Linked DNA regions of Homo sapiens: regions 2 and 3 are each linked to region 1. The links are contacts of gene promoters, found by promoter capture Hi-C in blood cells and fetal thymus (Javierre and others, 2016). All regions are on one chromosome and are shown on one strand. The core of a region is centred on a gene start or on the middle of the fragment in contact, and the rest is flanking DNA. Distances in the headings are between cores, read along the strand shown. Region 1 holds the start of NOCT (nocturnin). Region 2 holds the start of ZNF827 (zinc finger protein 827). Region 3 holds the start of C4orf33 (chromosome 4 open reading frame 33).

Evidence for each region. The method cuts DNA at HindIII sites, captures the fragments that hold promoters and counts their contacts. A CHiCAGO score of 5 or more calls a contact.
Region 2: the fragment with the promoter of ZNF827 here is called in contact with the fragment with the promoter of NOCT in region 1 in 2 of 17 cell types (non-activated CD4 T cells and activated CD4 T cells); the score reaches 10.0 in non-activated CD4 T cells.
Region 3: a fragment that was not itself captured here is called in contact with the fragment with the promoter of NOCT in region 1 in 3 of 17 cell types (activated CD4 T cells, total B cells and total CD8 T cells); the score reaches 7.5 in activated CD4 T cells.

The regions. Positions count from the first base shown.
Region 1 is chr4:139,013,783-139,017,206 of GRCh38, reverse strand. NOCT (nocturnin) reads right to left here and starts at 1,426. Exons shown (of 3, transcript NM_012118.4): 1 at 1,036-1,426. The coding sequence starts at 1,225. RefSeq lists a silencer at 987-1,286 and enhancers at 1,427-1,776, 1,809-2,730, 1,867-3,066. The HindIII fragment of the contact is 5,482 bases long and covers 1-2,649 here.
Region 2 is chr4:145,937,047-145,940,150 of GRCh38, reverse strand. ZNF827 (zinc finger protein 827) reads left to right here and starts at 1,328. Exons shown (of 15, transcript NM_001306215.2): 1 at 1,328-1,786. The coding sequence starts at 1,744. RefSeq lists an enhancer at 1,952-2,011 and silencers at 2,386-2,455, 2,576-2,985, 3,086-3,104. The HindIII fragment of the contact is 1,765 bases long and covers 1-1,586 here.
Region 3 is chr4:129,093,313-129,096,518 of GRCh38, reverse strand. C4orf33 (chromosome 4 open reading frame 33) reads right to left here and starts at 367. Exons shown (of 6, transcript NM_001099783.2): 1 at 310-367. It overlaps SCLT1 (sodium channel and clathrin linker 1), which reads left to right and starts at 2,980. Exons shown (of 21, transcript NM_144643.4): 1 at 2,980-3,206. RefSeq lists an enhancer at 2,716-3,206. The HindIII fragment of the contact is 2,032 bases long and covers 319-2,350 here.

The sequences.
Region 1 (3,424 bases), core at 177-2,676:
TGAAAGAAAAAATTTATCAATTTTTAAAGTATAATTAATTTGTATGTAATTTGTGGCCATGGTAATGTGTGCCCAGGCAGAAACAGAGGTAGCAAAAAAGGAAAACTCAGGGTAGTTATTATGATGTATGAAAACAGCTCTTGGTGAAACTAAGGCCTCACTTTTACAAGATCTTAGATACACAGGACAAAAAATGATGTTAACTATAAAGAGTGGAAGCCTCCAAAAAAAAAAAATCCAAAGAAACGTAAAATGGCCGAGCGCGGTGGCTCACGCCTGTGATCCCAGCACTCTGGGAGGCTGAGGCGGGTGGATCACGAGGTCAGGAGTTCAAGACCAGCCTGGCCAAAATGGTGAAACCCCCGTCTCTACTAAATATACAAAAGTTAGCTAGGCGTGGTGACTGGCGCCTGTAATCCCAGCTACTCGGGAGGCTGAGGCAGGAGAATCGCTTGAACCCGGGAGCGGGAGGTTGCGGTAAGCCGATATCGTGCCACTGGACTCCAGCCTGGGTGACACAGTGAGACTCCATCTCAAAAAAAAAAAAAAAAAAAAAAAAAAAAAACAACGTAAAACGAATCAATGTGTTATTATCACGACTTAAAAAAAAAACTTAATATCTAGACCATGAAAGCTATATAAGCAAATAAGCATCATTTAGATTTTTTTTTCCATAAAAATTTCCGTTAAGTCGTGCAATAAAAAATGTAACCAACATAGTAACTCGCGGCCTCGGAAGGGGGAAATTTAACGGTCAAGAACAAGAAATTCTGAAAGCATGGCCTCTAAGGGTCAAGCGGGAACCTGAATACAGTCTCCCAGTTCTTACTAGCTTTGATGCAAGCCCCAGGCAAGTCGGGGAACAGGGAAAGAGGAAAAAGGGAACGCAGAAGGTTGCTCCGGTAAAGGACCCACTTTCAGGCCAGACTCCACGACCGGCAGCCCCGGGCTTCTCATTCATTCCGCGCGGTCTCCAGGTGGCGGCCGCGCGTTGGCGGCCGTGGCGTTCTCCGCCCGGAACTGGGGTGCACTCACCTGTTCGGGAACACGACCTCGCGGCGCCCGAGGCCGCCGAGGCCGCCGCCAGCAGCCGGGGGGATGCGGGCCTGGGAACAGCAGCCGGCGGGGACAACGGGCGGCGCAGCCCTGGGGCGGGCAGGCGGCGCAGGCCGGGCGCGTCCCTCTGCAGCAGGGCCGAGCAGAGCCGCCGCGGACTATGAAACATGCCGGGCGCCGCCGCCACCACGGCCCCTCGCGCGCCCGAGGAGCGGAGCCCGGCTGGGGCCGAGGGCACCGAGTCGAGCCGACTGTCCGGGCAGTGTGGGCGGATGCTCCCAGGCTCCTTCTCGCGCGGCGCAGGTTCTGGGGAAATCCCGGGCAGCAGAGCCGGAGAGGGAGGTGCAACACCGCTGCGTCGGCACCGTCTGCTGTGAGACCTGGCGAGACCTGCAGGGCGCCCGGCGAGCGCTGCGCGCTGACAAAGCGGGCGCTACCAAGCGGGAGCTGGAGGGGAATCCGCGGGACCCGGCCACTGCGCGGCCACGCCAGGCTCCCTCGACCCGGCGTAATCCTGTTTTAAAAGGAAGCGGGGCTTAGGCTGATTTATAGATAGAATCCGCAGGCGGTCTAAAATAAGAGGTATCCGTTGGAGCTGTTCTGAAGAAAAAAGCGTCCCCTTCCGCTGGCCAGCATGGAAGCGCCCACAGGCTGGGAATCCCGAGACAGTTCCAGGGCTGTGGCCCAGGGGACACGTGTCTGTCAGAGTGGCAGACGGCCTACGTGTGTGCCTGCGCGGGTCTGTGTGGATACAGCAAAAGGCGTCCGCCTCCGACCCCCTCGGCAGTGTGTGATGCGTTAAACGATATTAAGCACAATAAAGCACCGCCTGTGGGCGAGGCGACGATGATTAAAACAGCGTTCTTTTCCTCAAAAGTGTTATACTTAGGCAAAGGGAGCAGAAGGTGGCAAGGGAAGTCAGACCAGAAAGCTCTACAAGGTAGAATGAGATTATTGCCACAAGATGCCAAAGATTGGCTATAGAGATGACAACAGGCCCGGGCTCTCTAGAAGGTTCATTAGAAGGATTGGCATTTGAGTTGGCCTATGACGTGGAGGTCTAGAATTTACCCACGTGAAACTTTGGAGGGGGTGGTGGTGAGTTATAAATGAAAAAAGTAAATAAGGGTGTATTTGGGGAAACAACTCTTAGTCATGTAAGATGGAAGCTAAGGAGTAAGAGGACAGATGCGTGGATAGGTTGTAGTGTGGAAGGAAGGGGATTATAGTAGGCTTAATTCGGTGGATAGCTGCGAGCCGTTGACGTTTTGTAAGCTGAGCAAAGACATGGTCAGGGCTGTGCTTTAATTGGAAATCACATGTCTCTGGTTCATGAAAAGGCAGAAAGGAAATCAGCTGAGATAACAGATACTGTAGACCCGCACCAGGTTACTGTTACTGGAAAAGAAAGGATGGAAGAAACATCTCAGACAGGCTGGGCAGGAAATGATGACTAATCAGGAATAGAAATGGGATGAGGGGGAGGGAAAACCCAAGACTGGATTTTTCTCTGAATGATTCATGAGTTAGAAATGTATTCTATTGGTTTTCCCATGATTTTGCTGATTCCCCTGTGTTGTGGAATTGCAAGCTTTTCATCACAAGAATATTCTAAATATTTTTCAGACCTAGGTTACATATCTAACACCTGTGGATAGAGGGTGTGGACAGATCAGCTGGCACAAGTTGATTACAACTTCTGGCAGACAAGCTCCTTGGAAGTCATTAAAGCCTCAGTTTCAGTTTCCTTATCTATAAAACATAGAATCATACCTTAGTCATTAGGTGAAATAAAAAATGATAATAAGCTACTCTGGGCACACTGTCTATCGAGTAGTCCTGCTCCACAAGGAGCAGTACTTGTAAAAAGAATTTTTTTAAAAAGGTGATAATAAAATTAGCCTATGAAAAGTGTTTTGCAAATATAGCAAAATGTTGATTTTGAATCTAGGTAGTGGGTATATATGGGTATAGGGACCATGGGAAAAATGTTCCCTTTGCCCTCTGAAGTTTGCTGAAAAATCAACTCACAAAAGGCAGATTAATGGGAGAAAAGGCATATGCATTTATTAACATGTACATGGGGAGAATCACAGAGTGATTACACACCCCCAACGGGGTTCAGAAGCTTGTCTACCATCCTGGCCAACAGACTTGGGGAGAGGGGAGCAGAGGCATTCTGTTGAGGAGATGACTAGGGAAAGTGAATGGATCAGGGCACAGGGATGAACTTGCACATTATCTTGTGAAAGGGTCTGTTCAGGTGGTTACATTTTTGGTCTTACAAGGAGGGGAAGAAAAAACAATTGTTCCTTTTGGTGGGTTCGGATTGTAGCCAGATAAAGGAACTTCAACTTCATCCTGTGCT
Region 2 (3,104 bases), core at 79-2,578, 6.9 Mb before region 1:
TGTGCCTCCACTTTCTTTGATGAAAAGGTCTATTTAAAAATTGGTAGGAAAATATTTAACATAATAAGATGATGAGTCAGAGTTTTAAAAAAGCTAAAAAGGGAAGATGTAGTTAAATAATGCACCTTTTTATTTTCTAGCTACATGACTCATGACATATAATGTATTCTGCTAAGTTCAAAGTTTCCTCTTACAAAGAGAGTTTTATGAAACAACTCTTCTTCAGACCATTTTTATTTCAATTATAGTAGCAGGTTTTGGAGTTTAAATCATTAACAACCTCTGAGTGAACTTTTATCCAAATGACTGCAAGTCACAAAGAGAACAGTCCTCTTTCACCAAGTACCTTTTGTGCTCTAGTGAGACCCGTCCTTTTCTATTTTTCTCCTTTATGTCTCTCTTTGAAGAAAGATGTGTGATTTGTAAGGTAATGAAAGTATGTATCAGTTAATGAAAACTGCTATATTGGGCTCATAATGCACACTGGAATTGCTTCAGGGTAAACTTCATATACCTGCAGTATATAGCAGGGGAAAAAGTGAATTTCCGAAGTAAAGATTGCTGTGTGCACTCTAGGAGTATCACGTAGCAGTTAAAGCAACCATCAGGGGTGACCTAATCTTATTTTCCTCTCTTTGTCAAGTAGCTGTAATGTTCATTTAGGAGCATTTTTCAGTTTTAACTCCAGTGGACACTCCAAAACTGGGCACTTATTCTGTCAACTGTCAACCAAGTTATTGATTTCACCATATGTTGTCTTCATTTTTTTTAAATTAGTTTTTTTGGAATGTTTTTGAAGAGTGTGTGGGAGACGATAACCTCCAGATTTAAGGTGATGGGGTAGGGACAAAAGCCTGCAGAATTTCATACAGAACAAAATGTAGCTTAATAAACAAAAGAAAGTGAAGAGAGAAATTTATTTCCTTTTTAAAAGTCAGTAAAATAATGAACTAATCGTTGTTTAAAGAGTGAGAAAAACTTTTTCCCCCTAGATTTGGTGACTAGCGGGATAAATTTGAAGAACTCCATCCCACCCCCGCACGCGCGCCCCCCATTCTTTCCAGACAGAGCGGTTGTAAATCCGAGGCTGAGTCCGCCCTGGGAGCCTTGGGGCACTTTCCTCTTTGCTCTGTGTGTGTGTGTGCGTGCGTGTGTGTGTGTGTAGCTCTCGCTCTTTCCCTCAGTCTGTGCCTCTTGTGTGTGTGTGTGTGTGACAGAGAGAGAGCGAGAGAGAGAGCGCGAGAGGAGAGAGAGCGAGAAAGAGAGAGAGAGAGAGCAAGAGAGCGAGCTGTGAGCTGTGCTGCCGCCGCCGCTGCCCTTTGATCCCGACATTAGTGTTAGGGGCTCGGAGACACAGAGCGCGGCCATAGACACCGCCGCACCGGCACTCATTTATTTATACCTCCCATCACACACGCGAGCATAGGACACACACACACTCACACCTATTAGATCCGTTTCCATTGAAGAATATTACGCTCGGGGACAAGCCAGGTGCACGACCAAAAATTTAAAAAAAAAAAAAAAAGGAAAAAAGAAAGGAAAGAAAAGAAGAAAACCCCTCTTCTGGCTCCAGGAAACAAGCTTCAACCCATTGCACACACCGGAGAAGGGGTTTCCCCCTGCCCGCCCGCCCGCCCCCCAACTACCTCCCCGCTCCTGCCAGTGTCTGCCTCTCTGCCCCCACGGGGGTTTATTTGATCTCACATTAACCAAGGAGGAGAATGTGAGAAAAGGGGGAAAATGCCCAGGAGGAAGCAGGAGCAGCCCAAGCGCCTTCCCTCACGTAAGTCATCCCTTCTCCACCTCCTCTCGTGCCATTTTCTCGCCCTCCCTCTCCTCTTTCCCCTCCGCAGCCTCCTCCGTTGTTTTCTGCATTAGTTTAGGGTTACAGAGGTGAAACTGACAAAGACACAGCCCGGGTTACTCCTCGTTTAGGTCTATGCTGAGGCAGCCATGTTGGTGATGATCAGCCCCGTGCCCTTTCTATTCTCTCTCTCTTTTTCTTTCTTTCTCTCACCCCCCCCCTTTTTTTCCTTGAGATCGGGCTTTTTTTTCCCTTTCCCTCCCCTTCCCCCTCCTCACTCTGGGTTGCTGGGGGGAGGGGGCAAGAGAAGGGAGGAGGGGAGTAGTGTGGATGCCGGGGGTTTTATCGGGGGTTTGGTGGGGGGAGGTGGGAGAGGTTGGAATCTTAAAAAAAAAAAAATTCCTTGTGGATTCCGGCGCCTGAGGGTGCGGGGGTCGGGGCGCGCGGAGGGCTGGGGGCCGTGACATGGCGTTTGGGGGTGTCGGGGAGAGGGCGCGCAGCAGCCGCCGGGTACAGGATCCAGGGAGAGGTCCGTCCCTGGCTAAAGGTTGCGCCGGGGTTGGTCGGCCCCCGAGCCGCCGGCGGCAGCGGCGGCGGCGGCTGGAGCAGGAGGAGGCGGAGGTGGAGGAGGCGGCGGCGGAGGAGGGGAGTCGGGGGCGGGCGAGGCGGGAGCGGCTGGGGAGGGTGTAGGGGCACCGCACACAAACACACGGGTACACACGCGCCGCCGGGCGGCTGCTCCCGCGGCGCCGAGGCGAGGGGGCGCGCCGGGGCGCGGGGCGGCCGGGCGGGGGGCGAGGCCGGGCAGCGGCGGGCGGATGTGGGGTGCGGGAGCTGCGCCGAGGCGAAGGCAGGAGGCAGGGCGGCTCGCGGCGCGCGAGGTCCCTGCAGAGCGGAGGAGAGGGAGGAGCAGGGCTCCTGGCCGCAATAAAATGCGGGGTCAGTCGGAGCAGACGGAGCCGGGCGAGACTCGGGCTCTCAGACCCCCTCCTTGGCGAGCCTGAGCAGAGTCCAGGACTAAAGTGCATCACAGCCCTCCCCGGCGGCAGCCACACACGCCAACTGGAGACACACACCCGCCGGCACGGCCCGGTCCCCTTCCCCTCCTCCACCCGCGCCCCCGGTCCCTCTCCGCCCTCCCTCCGGCTTTTCTTTGCGCGACTCTTAACTTTTCCCCCACTCCCTCTCCAGCTCCCCCCAACCCCCCAGTCTTTCTCCGCTTTGAGTGTTTCGAGATGCTGCTAAAGCTAAAAGTGAAGGAGAAAGAAGCAACTAAAAATATCCCCCGGGGCCGCCC
Region 3 (3,206 bases), core at 85-2,584, 9.9 Mb after region 1:
AAAGGTGTTTTCTCAACCAAATGATCTGCAAGGAAAATTTCCAAATTCCTCTGCTCAACAAAAATTTCTTTAGTTTTTCTACAATAATGATTTCTTTTCAGTTTCCATACCTCCCCGAGGCCCCGCCCATTTATCAGGGAAACGGAGAAATGAGGAAGTCAGCCTGAAAGGGGGAGTACGCTCACTTAGCAGGAGACAGCTGAAAAGTAAAATACTTTTCAGTATTTTCCAGAGATCAAGCGAAAAACAAGACCTGGCGACGACGAAAGGAATGTCAGAGAGAAGAGGGAACAACTAGAGAACACAGACCACGAAGCTTTTCTCAAACACTGGCTTCTTCTTTTCAGCCGAGGTCACAGGAGAGGGCTCGGCTTTAGGCTCCACCCAGCTGCCTACACGTTCTGGGGGAGGGGCTTAGAACACTGAAGCTAAGACGCTTGATTTTTCTAGGAAAGAAAGATGTTGAAGGGCCACACATGAACAACTGAAGACTTCTAATCGTTCCACTAAAGTATGAGTGGTTTCCTAGAAGAAGGAAGGGTGATTCAGAAATATAAATACTGTGCAATAATTTGAAAATCAACTGTAAATCATTAAGATTACAATATAACATGTACAGAAATATTTCATTTAATACAACTAAAGGCTAACTGGCCATATAAGCAAAAACTATAAATTATATTATACCAGCTATAAACTATATTATACTATATTCCTGGGGAGGCATGTTCATAGCAGTTAACAATTGTGAAATTAGAACCATACTGCCTGGGTTCAAATCTCAACTCAGGCACTTGCCAGCTGTGTGATCTGTTCTGATCCTTGCTTAAACTTCTAACTTTGTATTCTTCCTGGTACTTTGCACATAGTACTGGGTGCTCAATGTCAATTGATCAACCAAATGAATGTTAGTGAAATGTCACTAATTTTCAATCTATACAACTTTAGGGGTTTTCTTTATTGCAGAAAAGTCATATAAAAACATTAAATGGTGGCTTGACAAGAGTTACACACAAACTACATACATTTCTGCTTGTCATTCCTTGTATTCAATTTATACTAATAGATACTTTTCATGAACATCCACTGAATTCTTTCATTCCTTCCATCAGATATTTAATCAACTCTGTGTTCCAGGTATTATGATGGAGCCTGGAGACAAACTACAAAACATGACAGATAATGCAGGAAGGAGCATGAAGTAAGTACTAAGGTGGCACCTACCTTGGGAGAAGTGGATAAAGAACTCAGGAGATGTGAAAAGGAGGAACATGAGAGGGGATCCTTTAAGGATAAGTGAAATCATCACAATTTTGTTTCCTAATGATGAAACTTATGTTGAAAATACTCCATTAAAATTCAACTACTAAAATCTTGTAACCACAAACACAAACGCAAAAACAAAAAACTATCATGATCATAATTATGATCATGTAAGCTAAAAAATTCGAGTGCAGACATAAAAGTTTTCACCTGAGATATTCACTTTATGTAAATACCACTCATCAGTTATAGCCAGAAGGTATTTGCTTCCATCCAGTTTGGGTGTAAGCGTAGAGTTAAGTCTATAATTATTTATTTGATGCCAAGTAGAAATACGACAATATACAAGGTTCAAATGTGGGAGAAGTTACAAGCAAGTCCTTGGAGAGTCAGTGAGATGTTTATGAAGAAAGAGTCATATACTGAACTTCAAAAACGAGTTGGACCTTGCACACTCAATTTTCCCTTAGCTATAACGTTTATACAAAAAGTTTTTGTGTAAACGTTATAGCTACTAAAAATCAGAACAAGTTCAATTATCACCAACTCAAAGCTGGATTAGACCTTTTCAATGATTATTAAGCTACACATCCATATTTAACAGCTAGTCTTTAGAGGAAGGGACCATCTCATTCTATTAACAGTGAGTATTGAGTAAGGCCTTCAGATGCCTAACTGCATATATTTGAATACATTTTTAAAATTTCTTAACACATATCGCTAAGGTTACTTTGTTTATATGACATTATGAGTACGGGACAACAAAACTCTTAAGCCGTTAAACAGAAAGCCAAATCAAGCTGCATCTATGACATGCCTGTTTAGTGAAACTTTACTTCAGTCCATAAAAATACAATTTATTAAAAGCACAAAACTAGTGGCTAGCTTCAAGTTAACATTTTTGTTGCTAGTGGTGAGATTTCCTCTAATGTTAAATGATTTTTTTTAAAAAAATACGTTTTAAGTCCAGACAAAATTAATTTTCAAAAATGAAAATTGTAATCTATCCACAAATGTAAGTTTTACCGTTTTGTTTTTTGCAAAAAAAAGTACCTTTTATCTTTCCTTATATTTGAGGAAACAAGCTTATCTTTGAAGAAGTAGCTGCTGAATTTGCAAGATCTTTTGAGTACTTCTAACTACACGCTTTATTACTACACAGTTAAATATTTAAACAACAGTTGTCTCCTTTGTCTAAAGACCCACAAAGACCGAGAAGGTACTTACCTTCTTGAGATGACCAAATCCAAACCTAGAACTCCTCCAGAGGTACAGCCTTGGTGGGAGATTCTGAAGACGCCAGTCTGGCTTCTATCCCTAGCCGCAGGAACCTGCATCTTTTACTTAGTCCAGAAAGGCTTAGTATATTAGTAACCCAAAGATAGTGAGGGCATTTAAACTGTGTATTTCATTCTCTACTCACGTTTGCATTTTGGTTTTTTGTTTGTTTGTTTGTTTGTTTTAAAGAGGTTGGGCCTCACTACCTGGAGACACTGTCCCACCAGTTTGGCCGCCGCGCCAAGCCGGTGGCTCAGCCCGCTGTCATCCAGGTTCTCACGACTCCTCCCATTGCTTGACAGCCAGCCAATAGCGTGCTAGGACTCTAGGACGCGCGATGGCGTAAGCTCCAACGCCCGCGTGATGACGCAAGAGGCGCCACCGTCTCCAAGGAGTGGTCCGGGGCACCGGTTTCAAAGTCGCAGGGCGGGCCGAGTGGACTTCCGCTGCTGGCCTGGGGCTTCCCAGCCGTCTTGGCGTTGTCCTCTCCAACCCCCGCCGCTCCGCGTAGAACGCCGCTCTCAGGCTGCCGTCAAGCTCCCGCGGCACTCTCCTAGGTGGCCCGACGAGACCCAGAGTGACCCGCGGGACGCCTGTATCGACCGCGTCCTCTTCCCACCAGCGTGGGATTCGGTTGAACGTGGAGTCCCCAGCAATCTTCAGTC